Linked DNA regions of Homo sapiens: region 1 is linked to region 2. Evidence: promoter capture Hi-C in human tissues and cell types (Jung and others, 2019). All regions are on one chromosome and are shown on one strand. Each heading gives the region's core, a stretch centred on a gene start or on the middle of the fragment in contact. The rest is flanking DNA. Distances are from core to core; before and after follow the strand shown.

Region 1 (4,214 bases), core at 1,715-4,214, 400 kb before region 2:
ACCGGTCAGGGCTCTGCCCGGCCACCCAGCCGGCGGCGGGCCGTCTCTATCCTCCCGCGATGACCTGGTGCCTTCTCTGTCCCCACCCAGCTCCCGATGGGGGCCGCCCCTGTTTCTGCCTCTAGCCCCTGGCACAGAGGAGGCATCAAGGGGGCGGGGACAGCTCGAGGTCAGACTCAGAAGGCTCAAAGACACTCCAAGAGTGAGCCGTGTGCCAGGCTGCGGACTTGCGGGGAGGTGTCACAGGACAGGGGTGGGGGAGTGAGCATTTCATGGAACTTCCCCTTTAGCCCAGCAGCAGTAGGGGGCGTGGAGGACCCCAGGGAGGAGCCTAGGTCGGGGTCTTGGGCTAGGCCCTGCGTTCTGCAGTGGGAGAAGGGGGAGACCTCTCTCAGTCTCCTGAAGTCCTAGGGGGCTGTGGGGGGTTCTTGAGGCTCTGAAATGTCTGGTGATGTCTGAGTGTGGCTGTGGTTCAAGGATTTACAGGGTCGAGGATTTTAGTGTGTGGGGGGGGATTGTTCAGGGACATAATGTTTTGTAGATTTGGGGCCAAGGGCATCTTGTCTTGGGGTCTCAGCCCCCATGTACCCTCAGCCCTCCAGGCCCTGGCCACCCCCAGAGGGATAAGAAGGGAGGTTCAGTGTCACTCCGGAGGCCTGGCTGGCACAGGTGAACTCAGGCAACACGTTCCCTGGCCCAGGCCTCAGTTTCCCCATGTATACAAGGACAGGACTGACCTTGGATCCCCCAAACCCCTGCCTGATGGGGGCCTGGGGAGCTGAGACATCTGAAACTACACAGGGAGGTGGGACTTAGTTCCTCTTTGGGGGAGGCAGGGATCATCCAACCCACCCTTCAGTAAACAAGACTGGAAACCGAGGCCAGAGAGAGACATGCCCAGGGGGACACAGGGACAACAAGGCTGAGCTGAAGCCAGGGCCCTGGGCTCTGCATCCCCAACCCCATTTCAGCCTCGCCCAGCTCTGCCCCGGCTTGACCTGTCAAACCCCACCACGCGCCCTACCCCATGGCTCCACCAGACACCCCCTGTGTCCCAAGCATGCATTGATCTTCCCTCAGCCTGGAACGCCTCTCCTCCTGATCACTGCTGTTCACTTCTCAGGGCAGCCTTCCAGCCTCCAGAAAAAAATCCCCTTCGAGGCGGGCGGATCATGAGGTCAGGAGTTTGAGACCAGCCCGACCAACACGGTGAAACCCCCTCTCTATTAAAAATACAAAAATTAGCTGGCAAGGTGGTACATGCCTGTAATCCCAGTTACTGAGGAGTCTGAGGCAGGAGAATCACTTGAACCCAGGAGGCGGAGGTTGCGGTGAGCCGAGATGGCGCCACTGCACTGCAGCCTGGGGGACAGAGCAAGACCCCATCTAAAAAAAAAAAAAAAAAAAGGCCGGGCGTGGTGGTTCACGCCTGTAATCCCAGCACTTTGGGAGGCCGAGGCGGGTGGATCACGAGGTCAGGAGATCGAGACCATCCTGGCTAACGTGAAATCCCGTCTCTACTAAAAAATACAAAAAATTAGCCTGGGCGTGGTGGCGGGCGCCTGTAGTCCCAGCTACTCGGGAGGCTGAGGCAGGAGAATGGCGTGAACCTGGGAGGCGGAGCTTGCAGTGAGCCGAGAACGTGCCACTGCACTCCAGCCTGGGCTACAGAGCAAGACTCCGTCTCAAAAAAAAAAAAAAGAAAAAAAAGAAAAAGAAAAAAGAAAAGATCCCCTGTGTCTGCCCACTGCATTGCCTCCCCAGACCCAACCAGTGGGGACAGCTGCGTCCAGCTCTGGGGGCTCCCAGACAGCCAGGCCGAAGGGCTCTCAGCCCCTGGCAGTGCTGGCCCGGGACAAGGCCCTCGGGTCTTCAGCTCAAGGCCCAACAGGAAACAGCACGGGTCCTCCCTTGCCTTTGTCTACGGGGCCTTGAATACTCGGACCTTCCCACCCTCTCCTATCATTCCCTGCACCAGCCCTTGCAGAATCTTCCGCCTCCTCTCCATTTTACAGAGGAGGAAACCGAGGGTTGAGCGGCGAATGATTTGCCCTGCCTGCCCAGCACGGAAAAAAATCACTCTTCTGGCCCCAGTCGCCTCCCTTTCTGTGCTGTGAGTCTGTGTCCAGAGCAGGAAGGGCTGCTCCGAGCTGCAGGGACGGGCTCTGTGTGTTAAACCTTCAAATGGCTTCCAGGGACTCATGGAGCATCCAGGACACCTGGAGATGGCGACTCCTGGGACCCCTGGCCCTTCCCTCCTCTGGCCTTCGGTCCGTGAGGGTGAATTAAGTGTGCCACCCACCAGGGGCAGAGACACATGGAGACAGAGATTGAGAGACAGAGAACAGAGGGGGAGACAGAAAGAGAGAGGGACATGAAGAGCAACGGAGTTACAGGAGGATCTGACGCTCCGTTGGGGAGACAGGGAGAAATGTGGGGAGATGCAGCGTCCCAGGTGCTCCCCAGTGGCCCTGCCCCTCCTCCCCTCTCCCCTCCCCACCAGGCAGGACCCTCAGGGAGCTCCAGCCTGGACCCGAACCCTGTCCCACCCTGACGCACCTGCACCAGGCCAGGCTGGACCTGTGGGGTGGGTGCAGGCCTGGCCCCAGCCCGGCCACTGCCCTGGAAACCCCTCCCCCGCCAAGATGCTGATGTAACATCCAGGATTTGATGTTTTACTCTCCAATTCTGCAAATCCAGACGCAGGAGGTTTTAAGAGGCCGTTGCACCCTGCAATAAAGTGCGGGACACAGGAATCTTGGTCCTCGGGGCACCCCCTTCCCTCGGGGGGGTTTCGCCCCCCGCACTCACGGCCCCTGAGCCCGCGCGGAGGCCCGACGCCCCGCGGCCGACGCCGGTCCCCGCCCCGGGCCGCCATTGGCTGTTGCCATGGCACCAGCCCGTCTTCCCGCGCCCTCATTGGCTGTCTCACCCGCATCCCTCATCCCGCATCCTCCCCCGCTCGCGGTGGTCTCGCCCAGCGCTAGGAGCGGCAGCGCCGCCTGCCCAGGCCCGGACCGGGCTTTGTCCGCCCCGGAGCCCCTGCCCGCGCCGCGGAGACCCCGGAGCCCGCGCGCTCCGAGGCCACCCCGGGCCGGGATTTCCGGTGGGGCCCGCGGAGCCGCGCAGAGGGAGGAGGCCCCAGACCCAGGCGCCCCGCCAGCCCAGCTGCACGTAAGCGGGTGTGTGTCCTCGGGGAGGAGGGCAGGGGCGCGACCTCCGCCTCGCGTCGAGGTTTCCATCCCTGGCTCTCAGCATTGCCCGTCAGCACAGACTCTGGACCCTCCATTTCCCCAGAGTGGGAGCTGGAGGGGAAACTGAGTCCCGGTGAGCTGGGCGTCAGCGTTTCTGCAGCCGGTCCTGCGCACACACCCACTCACGGGCTTCACCATCCGGACCTCCCTGAGGTGATCGGAGGAAGGGATGGGCAGGCCAGTGGTGTGTCTTCGGGGGTGTTGCTGCACCTCTCTGGGTGTCAGTTTCCCTCTCTGGAAAGAGGGGGTTTGGATTAAAGGAAGGAGAAAGGCCCCTTTGGGCCTGGCTTCCCATACCTGTGCCTCCCTCCCCTGAAATGCAGCCCGCTCAATAAGACCAGCCCCCAGTCATGGTGCCTTCAGGGAGTGATCGCTCAGGAAGGCCCCCAGGAGGCTACACGATGCAACCTGGGGGTGAAAGTAGGCAGAAGAGCTTCGTGGAAGAAGCTGCACTGTGTGGGATGGCAGGACTTAGAAAAGGTGCTCTAGGCAGGGCAACTGCACGTGCAAAGGCCTGAGAGAAGAGAGCCTCCAGCCTCTAAGTGAGTCGCGGTGTACATGGAGGAGTCGGAGCGTATCCTGAGGGCACTGGGGAGCCATGGAAGGTGTTTGAGCATGGGAGAAATGGGATCTCACTTGTGACGTTTAAAGCTCCCTCTGGCTGTGCATGGGGGACTGTGGGAGGCCAGGAAGAGGCTGATCAGAATGTCCTCACAGAGGGGTGTCAGGAGCTGGGGGAGGCATGATCCCGCTGGGCAGAGCTTGGAGGGACTAGCTTAGTCTGATGAGGATGCAGAAATGACCACCGAATGTGGGGAGAGGGAAGGTGTCTGAGGCTTGGCTTCGGTCAGCTGAGAAGAACCACGTGGGGGAGGCCTGGGTTTGGGGAGCAGGAGGCAGACATGTGTTGCTTTGCACGTCATCTGGTCCTTCCACCTGGCTGGGCATGGGATGGTGACC
Region 2 (4,205 bases), core at 472-2,971:
CGCCGCCCATAGTCCCAGCTACTCAGGAGGTTCAGGCAGGAGGATCCCTTGAGCCCAGGAGGTCGAGGCCTCAAAGAGCTGTGATCGCACCACTGCACTCCAGCCTGGACTATAGAGTGAGACCCTGTCTCTAAAAATAGGGTTAAAATGAGCATCGTGAGTCTGGTGTCACAGCCTCCGAGAAGCCTCTCCCACGCGTTGCCTTCTTCACCAACTCCCAGCCCCCGCCAAAGCCGGCTGCGTGCTCCCAGGACATCACGACCTATGCTACGGGATCTGTAGGCACAGCTGTCGGCAGGTCCCTGAGAGCACAGCCGGCATCGTACGCAGCTCTGAATCCCCCGCCTCAAACACAGCGAAGACGCTGGGCTGTGGGGAGCTGACAAGTGATTGCTTGCATCTGTCCACCTGCAAACAACCGCCCACAGGTGCAGGTGTCCCAAGCACACTTATCAGGGAAATCAGAAAAAAATGCTACCTTTTCTGGCAAAACAGGAAAATAAACCTATTCTTAAATCCTAGAGAAGATGTTTCTCTTTTGCAGGAAAAGGTTCTGAGCTGAGACTGTTTCATGGTTAAAGTAAAAACAGTGCTTGAAACTCACGCCCAATGAGGAAATCTGGGACGAAGGAAGTCAGGGGCTGGGTGAAGCAGAGAGCCACTATCAAGGGACAGAGGTAACAGGGGAGTCTGAATGACATCACACTCGATAACCCTCCCTCCACGACTTTCCTTGCGATGTCCCTCTTTTTCTCCAATCCAAATCCCACATCTCCTCCAAGAAACGCTGCCATGACGATGAAAACCACCATGACGCTGTGAGGTGGAGTCCACCAACGTCCTCTGCCCGACCAAAAGCATGGAATTCCTCGGAGCCCACTCGAGTAAGCTTTGACTTCCTCCCTGCCAGTCATGCTGGACACAGGGCTCGACAAACACAAGAGACGATCCTCGGACCATCCTAACTCAACGACTGGAGACTGAGGTGGCCGCTGCCAGAGGCGCGGCCGGAGGAAACGTCATGGAAATAAACAAGGGCGGCCACAAGCACATGGGGTCCGGGAAGCGGCGGGCGCCAATCAGGGGCAGGAGGAGTCCAGGACCTGCCTAGCGCCGGCCGCGCCCGTCTCCCGAGCCCCCTTGTGTCAGGCCCGGTGCCCGGTACTCAACATGCGCTCGCACTCCGCCCTCTAGACAGCCCTGGCAGGACGCGTCCTCCTAGTTGACATTTCACACTCGTGAAGACGAAGGCTTAGGGACATCTAGTGCTTTGCACCGGGTCCCAGGGTGGGTGGTTCCGGTCCCGACTGGGAAAACCGTCGCCCGCGAACGTGTGGGGAGGAGGCTGGGCCGAGAACGGGGACCCCGGGCGGGACCGGGGTGGGGTCCAGACCCGGGCAGGGGAGCCGAGCCCAAGGCAAGCAGGCGGGCGGGCATTACCTGCTGCGGGGGGCGCCTCTCCGCCGTCACCGGGCGCGCCGGAGCCCCGGGCCCCGCGGTGCCGGAAGTGGCAGTAGGGCCGCCGGCAGGGCCCCCCGGGCGCCCCAGACCAATAGGGGCAGTCAATGGCCCGGAAGAAGCCAGTGGAGCGTAGCATGGTCCGTCCCGCGGCGGGGCCCCGGCCCGGAGCCGCCCGGGCCCCAGGGCCCCCTCACTGGCGCCGCGGTCGCCGCCGCCCGCGCCTCACGGACCCCGCCGCCGCCATCTTGCTCCGAGGCCCCCGGAGGCCCTCGGGACGCCGCCGCAAGGGACCCCGGGAGGGGCTGCCCGCAGCGCGCCTGCTCAGAAACGCCTGCTCCTGCGCGACCAAGGCTGGTGACGGACCCCTGGGCCGGGACAGACGGCCGCGGGAGGAAGTAAGGAGGGCAGGGGCTGCCCTGCCTGCGGTCTCCGGGAGCCTCGCCAGCGCCGCCGCCCGACCTTCGGCGGCTGTAGCGGCGCCATCTTGAGCCCCAGGCCCCTGCGGCGCCAGGGCTGTCCACGGCGCGCCTGACCAAAAAAGCCCCGCGGGGCCCGCTATTACTCATTTGCATATTATTTCCTTTCGTTAGCATATCACCTTAAGGCGCCCTCTGCTGGACGAGGAGAGTTCTGCGGGGAGGTGGCCTTAAACCTGGGCCAGGTGAAACTCATGGTTGAATTACTCCGTTCACAGTCTTTAAAAATCCCCTCGCCCTGGTATACAGCTGGCTCTCAAGAAACGCCTTAATCTCCCCAACCTCGACTCTTGTCATCAGTCTAATGACCAGGTCCACGTTCACTCATTTGTTCAACAAATATTGAGCGCCTACTGTATACCAGCTAGAGGGTGCATTTTAACAGACAAACGAGGAACAAGGCTGGGATGGGGCAACTCTGTAGTCTGGTGGAGTAGGCCCACGTCTTAATGGGAAGTTTAACCTGGTGCATTTTGGTGGGATTGTAAAATAGTGCCACTGCTATGTAAAACAAAAAACCCAAAAAGTTTGTTTTTAAGAGACAGGGTCTTGCTCTGTCACCCAGGCTGGAGAGCAGTGGTGCGATCACGGCTCACTGCAGCCTCGACTTCCCTGGCTCAGGTGATTCTCCCACCTCAGCCTCCCGAGTAGCTAAAACCACAGGTGTGCACCATCATGCCTGGCTAATTTTTTGTATTTTGTGTAGAGATGGAAAAAGTTAAACAGAATTACCCTATGAGCAACTCTATTCCTGGGTATACACCCAAAAAGAATAGAAAGCAAAGTCTTAGGTCGGGCACAGTGGCTCATGTCTGTAATCCCAACACTCTGGGAGGCTGAGGCGGGTGGATCACTTGAGCCCAGGATTTCAAGACCAGCTTGGCCAATATGGCAAAACCCTGTCCTACTAAAAATACAAAAATTAGCTGGGCGCGATGGCTCACGCCTGTAATCCCAGCTCTTTGGGAGGCCGAGGAGGGAAGATCAACCGAGGTCAGGAGTTTGAGACCAGCCTGGCCAAGATGGCGAAACCCCACCTCTATTAAAAATACAAAAATTAGCTGGGCGTGGTGGCGGGCGCCTGTAGTCCCAACTACTTGGGAGGCTGAAGCAGGAGAATCACTTGAACCTGGGAAGCGGAGGTTGCAGTGAGCCAAGATTGCACCACTGCACTCCAGCCTGGGTGACAGAGTGACAGTCCGTCTCAAATAACAATACAATGGTTAAGATGACAAATTTTATGTTATGTGCATGTGATTTTACCACAATTATAAATAAATGACAGGATGCAATGATGAGGGGACGTGGGTTGGGATGGGTCATGGGCGACTCTGCAGAGGACCTGATCTAATCTCAAAGCTGTCCTATCATGGGCAGTGGAGGCGTAGACTCCCTGTCATGGCTCCTGATGATGCGTGAGAGATGAACTCTCATTTATGCGATTGCTCCATCCGTGCCGGCTGGTGTCGGTCATTCATTCAGCAAATAGTTACTGAGCACCTACTGTGTGCCACAAAATGCTAGAAACATCCATAAGCAGAGCAGAGAACCCCACTCTGGTGGAGGTGATGGTGTAGGCAGGGAGGCCGACAATGAACACAGCAATAAGTGAGACAGCCTGAAGCCAGGTGGAAAGTGCTTTGAGAACAGAAACAGGAGAAGAGCCTGGACTGGGCACAGGGCTGGTCTGGGTGATTCTATGGGGAAGGCGGGATTTGTGCGGTTTTACAGAAAATTAGGGGCCAGGCATGGTGCCTCTCGCCTGTAATCCCAGCACTTTGGGAGGCTGAGGCAGGCAGATCACTTGAGGTCAGGAGTTCGAGACCAGCCTGACTAACATGGTGAAACCCCATCTCTACTAAAATTACAAAAATTAGCTGGGTGTGGTGGCCCATGCCTGTAATCCCAGCTACTCGGGAGGCTGAGGCAGGAGAATCCCTTGAACCTGGGAGGCGGAGGTTGCAGTGAGCCAAGATTGCACCACTGCACTCCAGCCTGGGTGACAGAGTGAGACAGTGTCTCGAAAAAATAAAAGATAAATAAATAAATAAAAGATGATGAGGGAGCCAAGCAGGCTTCTGGAGGAAAAGCATTCCGGGCAGAGGGCACAGGCCATGGGCAGGACTGCGCCTGGTGTGTTGGAGGAACAGCGAGGAGGCCAGTGTGGCTGGACCAGGGTGAGGAGGGGGAGAGAGGCAGGAGGGAAGAGCAGGGAGAGGACGGGGCAGGTCATGCAGAACCCTATGGGCCTCAGGGAGGACTTGGGCT

The links. The method cuts DNA at HindIII sites, captures the fragments that hold promoters and counts their contacts. A contact is called where the count stands out against the background at its distance.
Region 1: the fragment with the promoter of APC2 here is called in contact with the fragment with the promoter of REXO1 in region 2 in 1 of the 25 tissues and cell types used here (dorsolateral prefrontal cortex).

Annotation. Positions count from the first base shown.
Region 1 is chr19:1,447,157-1,451,370 of GRCh38, forward strand. It overlaps APC2 (APC regulator of Wnt signaling pathway 2), which reads left to right and starts at 2,965. Exons shown (of 15, transcript NM_005883.3): 1 at 2,965-3,182. RefSeq lists silencers at 1-68, 2,812-3,011. The HindIII fragment of the contact is 30,284 bases long and covers 1-4,214 here.
Region 2 is chr19:1,846,762-1,850,966 of GRCh38, forward strand. REXO1 (RNA exonuclease 1 homolog) reads right to left here and starts at 1,722. Exons shown (of 16, transcript NM_020695.4): 1 at 1,441-1,722. The coding sequence starts at 1,597. RefSeq lists a silencer at 1,450-1,919 and enhancers at 1,940-2,089, 2,110-2,189. The HindIII fragment of the contact is 7,366 bases long and covers 1-4,205 here.